Linked DNA regions of Homo sapiens: region 1 is linked to region 2. Evidence: promoter capture Hi-C in 16 types of primary human blood cells and fetal thymus (Javierre and others, 2016). All regions are on one chromosome and are shown on one strand. The core of a region is centred on a gene start or on the middle of the fragment in contact, and the rest is flanking DNA. Distances in the headings are between cores, read along the strand shown.

Region 1 (2,700 bases), core at 15-2,514, 1.0 Mb before region 2:
GTGACATTCCATGTGGACAGAGGACTGGGTAGGGGCAAAGGCCCTGAGCTGAGCAAGGGGAACTCAGATGAATAGGATGTGTTTGGAGCTTGGTGCATGAAAGAGTGTGCTGGAGTTTATGTCTCCAAACTAGGTGGGAGGCGATCATGAAGCGCATGGTGATGATGAAAGTTGCAGGATAGGGTTGGGTGTGGGGAGGGACTCTTCTTAGCAACAGCCACAGCCTTAAAGGAAGACCTGCTTTTCTCAGTCCCAACCTGTTCTAGGGGAAGGAGACAGCTAGTTTGCCTGCAACCAGTTGGGATGCTTTGAGACTCTGAGGCAGAGGGTCAGAGCTGGAAGAGCCTTCAACATCACCCAGCTACTTCCACTCATTGTGTGTGCAGAGGATGGTGTGGAAATCTTGGAGGCCAGGGGAGTTTTTAAGGTTAACAGTTAGAAAATGGCAGAGCTGGGCCTTTAGCCCTGGACAGAGTTTTGTCAATTGCACCTGAATGTGTTGGAAGCTTTATTCAGCCTCTCCCTTCTCTCCTTTATCCAGTGGGATGGGGACCTATTTCTCAGGCATCTTTGGGCAGGGACCCATCCATCTGAGGGTCTGGTTTCTGTTTCTGCAGGTAAATCATGGATGGCACAGATTTTGCCCCAGAATCAAGCTGGTCTTGGGCTTTTTCTCAGGAGTTTTGCCTTATGGCCCTTTTTTGCACCTCTTGTCATCTGCCTTGATTTGAGACTTGCTCCAGGCTCCAATCTCTTGCTTCTATGATCTGCTCTTCTCTGCCTGATGACCTACCTGAGGCTGGGCCCAGTTCTGTTTGCTGTCTCTCCATCCACCCATCTTCTGTACAAGGCTGCAATACCAAAGCCTCATTTCTCTCCTACTATAAACTCCAAAATACTCTTTTCTAAACCCAGCCTGTAAGGGCTCTCTTCATGTCTGTCCCACTTTCCTTTTTCTGCACACATTCTTCTCCTTGCATCCTTAGTTCTTTCCCTTTCTGTTTTAAATTCTGACATCTTCTTCCTCATCTCGTATTATCTTCCTTATTAATTACCCCACTACTCACAAAAAATGTTTAGGGACAGTTGGATAATTTGGCAAGAAAGAATCCTTTTGGGAGTAAGGGGTAAGCAGGGAAAGAAGCTGTGGATATTCACGCTTTGTTATTTTTTTGCTTTCACATCTGCTTCCCATAACAAGTAGGGCACTGAATTTCAGGTTTGATCTGCACTGTGTGGATGGAGCTGTTATGTCTACTTTTCTTCCTTCTTCTTTGAACTATGTATTTTCATGCAATGGACAAAGATTTCCATTCTTCAGATTGCAATTTTAGATGGCCACATGTGAGCTTCCTGGTAAACCAAACACTTATCTTCCTCTCATCTGCTGCCACCAGCTCACAACACCTTGGTTTGACACCCATTTGTGCCATTTCCCATGGCTTCAAGTTTTGATCAGTCTATGCCTTCAAATATCACCTCTGTTCTGATGACTGTCAATTTTATACCTCTAGCCCAACGATCTCTCCAGATTTAAACCTCTTTAGATTGTCACAAAGCTATCAGTCTCTGATAACCATTACAAGATTGCAACTAAGTTTGAGTCCCATAATTTTCTGGCCTTCATCTGAGGTAAGTTACTCAGCTTTTTTTGTTTTGTTACTTAGCTTTTGAGCTACTTTTTCCTCTCCTGAAAATGGGAGAGAATATGAATACCCACCTGAAAGGGAGGGTGGGAAGACCAAATGACATAATTCATAATTGATGTAGAAGTGCCTTGTAGCTTGTAATGGATGTAAAAAAGCCCTCTCCAAATCTTCATTGCCTTGTGAGTTGTATTTGCAACTTCAGCAGATACCAGATAAATTTAGAAATTGCCCCTGCAATAGACATATGTTGCCACCAGGTGGCAGGAGAAACCTGTGATGCAATCAACGAGGACAAACATTCTCAGAGAGAATTAATAAAATAAATTCTGATTGTTAGAAGCAGCCAACTCTTTAGTGTTTATTAAATAAACAACAAAGCTTATTTATAAATCACAGAAACCCGGAATACGCCAAATATGAATTCTCTAATAGAGGGTGTTTCAAACAGTTTTTAGGCTCTGGTGCTCATTTTCCAGCCGAAACCTTACATAGAACCCCAAGTATAGAAAGTAGATAAAAGTGGCAGAACTTTTTCTGAAGTAGGGCAGGGACACTGGGAGTTAATTCACTCATCTTCCTTCTTTGTCCTTGAGCCACCTCTGCCAAACCTCAGGTCTTCATGGGACAGAGTTCTAAACCACTGTTCTAATAACTGTATAATGCCCTTTAAAAATATTCCTTTGTCATTGTAAAAAATGCATGTTGCTTAAAAATATATAGAATTTTAGATAGAGTTTATATAAAATATAAGTTATAAATGTATATAAATGTATGTAAATATAAAATTATAAAATTTGGGCCAGGCTTGATGGCTCATGCCTATAATCCCAGCACTTTGGGAGGCCGAGGTGAGAGGATCCCCTGAGGTTAGGAGTTCGAGACCAGCGTGGCTAACATGGTGAAACCCTGTCTCTACTGAAAAATACAAAATATTAGCCGGGCATAGTAGCGGGTGCCTGTAATCCCAGCTACTCGGGAGAGTGAGGCAGAAGAATCCCGTGAACCCGGGAGGTAGAGGTTGCTGTGAGCCAAGACTGCGCCACTGCATTCC
Region 2 (2,700 bases), core at 61-2,560:
TCAACACCATGACACCTTATCATTAAGAGCGCTGATTGTTACTTTCCGAGCCTTTAGATGATCAGCCAGAAAGTGCAAACAACGCGGGGCTGGAGGGTGTAAAGTTATTTAAGCAGGCGTTCTTTTTTTCTTTTGGTGCGCAGTCAAAACATTTCACAAGTTAGGAAAAGAAAGTGGTGGTTCCGAAGCTCGGAATGATGGGCTCTTTTCCTCCTCCACCCCCCCACCTTCCATATCAGGAAAGAAATAAAACGCACAATGAGCCTTTATTTCAGGAGAGAAGACTTCAAAATACGTGCCAGTAATGGACAATTTGAGCTTTTCACTGGAAATACTCACACCGCAAGCTGGAAAGGGATTAAAAAGCCCCACGTGGTTGATCTGGGTTTATACTTGCAACCTCCAGTTCCCCACGTATGTTCTTTGCAAAGGTTGGCCTCTAGATGGATGCAAGTAAGGGACCCTCTGGGGCTCGGGCTCGGCGCCTCGGGCAGGGCTGACGTTGGGAGCGCTATGAGCTGCCGGGCAGGGTCCTCACCGGGGGCTTCCTCTGCGGGCCAGGGCTGCCGGGCGCCACCGGGACGCGAGCGCGCACGCCTCGGCCCGGCGGCCGCGCTCCTCGCACCGCCTTCTCCGCAGGTCTTTATTCATCATCTCATCTCCCTCTTCCCCTTCTCCTTCTCCTTTGCCTCCTTCTCCTTTGCCTCCTTCTCCTCCTCTTCCTCCCCCTCCTCCACCACCACCTCCTCCTCCTCTGCCGCCGCCACCTCCTCCTCTTGCATCTCACTGGCCTGGCTCTGAGTGACAAAGACAATGTCCCAGCCTTAACTTTGCAACCACCTTGCCTCCTTCTGGGGTTCAGCAGGGGGGAGGGGGAACAGCAGCAGCAGCCTCAGCATCTCCTCCAGCTTCTCCTTCTGCTCTTCTCGAGCTCTTGGATAATTCTTCCTCTTTTTTCCCCTAGCCTTTTTCCTCATTTCTTTCTTTCTTTCTTTTTTTCCTTCCTCTCTGCTGCACGTTGTTGTTGTTATTAGAAAGGCTTCGCGCACCCCCTGGTGCTCCGGCGTTTTGTGTGGCAGGAGAAGATTGTCTTCCTTCTCTCTTTCTGTCTTGCTTTCTCTCTCCCCCTGGTTGCTCATTATTCAGAGAGAGACACAGAGGGAGGGAGAGAGAGAGAGCGCGCGAGGGAGAGGGAGGAGAGGAGAGAGAAGAGGAGAGAGAGGGGAGAGAGAGAGTGAGAGGGAGAGGGAGGGAGGGAGAGAGAGAGAGAGGGAGAGAGACGGATATCTCAGGTCATCTGCAGCTGCAGCGAGTCTGAGGAGCCGAGGAAGGCAGGGAAGATGGCGATCCTCCATTGCTGAGACCCGGCAGAAGCACATGAGACTCCCAAACAACTTCCACAACAATAACCCGAGCAGGAAGAGGAGAAAGAGAAAGAGGATAAGGAGGCGGTGGGGCTGGAGAACCCGAAGCACCTCCCGGCGCCGGGACGCTTCTTCTGTAAGTTACTGCAATTAACAACCACCTCGGGGTGGTCCGAGTGCTCCGGGGAAGAGAGCGCGGGGTGGTGGAGGCACAAACGCGCTCATTCATTCGGCCAAGGAGGGTTGGAGGAGCGGGGAGGAGAGGAAGTCCCCTGCATGGACTGGCTGTTGGAAGAGGAGAAGAAGCGAGAGAGAAGAGGAGGAGGGGGAGGAGGGAGAGCAGGAGGGGGAGGAGGAAGAGGAGGAGGAGAAGCGAGGGAGGAAGAGGAGGAGGAGGAAGAGGAGGAGAAGGTGGTAGTGGTGGCAGTGGAGGTGGCTGTGCTTTTCCTGCTGGCTGCTGCTCCTGCTGGGGGGAGTGAGCGCGGTGGCTTAATTAATTTCGTGTAGTTCTATGAAGAGAAGAGAAAATGAAAGATGAGTGAGAAGAGAGCTGGAGGCTTAGGACGGATGCTCCGAGTGTGGGGACAGGAGTAGGGACAGAGGGGGGCGGAGGGCGGGAGGCCGGAGACCTGAGCCGAGAGCCAGAGGGAGCGAGCGAGGGTCAGAGGAGGGAGAGCTCCGTGCGAGCGGCCCCGACCTGAGCGGGTTGACCTCTTTCTTTCTCTGTCCCTCTCCTTCCTTTCCCCCTTCTGTCTGCCTGTCCCCCGCCCGATGGCAAAGCCGTGCGGATTGGCAGCCCCCCTCTTCCTCAGGTATTTGGCTCTCTCTCTCTCTCTCTCTCTCTCTCTCTCTCTCTCTCTCTCTCTCTCTCTCTCTCTCTCTCTCTCTCTCCCTCTCCCCGAAGTTGGGATGCGGGGTCGGGATGTGTCGGGGGGTGGCTGCTGCAGCTGCTGGTGCCGGTGCTGCTGGTGAACAGAGAGGCGAGGAGCGGGGGGCACCGGCCGGGTGGGGGGCGCAGGTTCAGGAGCGGCTGAGGAGCTGTCTCCAGGCTGGAGGTTCAGAAGCGTCTGGTGGAGGAGGACAACGGTTTCTGGAGAGGAGAAGCCATTACACACGCTTGGCTCTCCTCTGAGGAAGGGAGAAAGGAAGGCAGGGGCCTGGGGGGGCGTCTCACTCCTGGTGCAGTTCCCAGGGGTCTGCCCTCCTTCCAGGCACGAGGGGAAGCCGCAGCCGCCCCCCATTGGAGCAGCCCCTCTTTCCCTTTCTTTATCTCCCTGTCCTCCATTTGCAAGCTGTCTGCTTTGGTTCCAGTCCAGACTCCAAAACACAAAGCTCC

The links. The method cuts DNA at HindIII sites, captures the fragments that hold promoters and counts their contacts. A CHiCAGO score of 5 or more calls a contact.
Region 1: a contact is called between a fragment that was not itself captured here and the fragment with the promoter of ZNF462 in region 2, in 2 of 17 cell types (endothelial precursors and megakaryocytes). The highest score is 10.8, in endothelial precursors.

Annotation. Positions count from the first base shown.
Region 1 is chr9:105,840,327-105,843,026 of GRCh38, forward strand. No RefSeq gene overlaps it. Among named protein-coding and RNA genes, the nearest start is that of TMEM38B, 150 kb to the left of the region's middle. The HindIII fragment of the contact is 1,521 bases long and covers 505-2,025 here.
Region 2 is chr9:106,861,856-106,864,555 of GRCh38, forward strand. ZNF462 (zinc finger protein 462) reads left to right here and starts at 1,311. Exons shown (of 13, transcript NM_021224.6): 1 at 1,311-1,500. The HindIII fragment of the contact is 9,383 bases long and covers 1-2,700 here.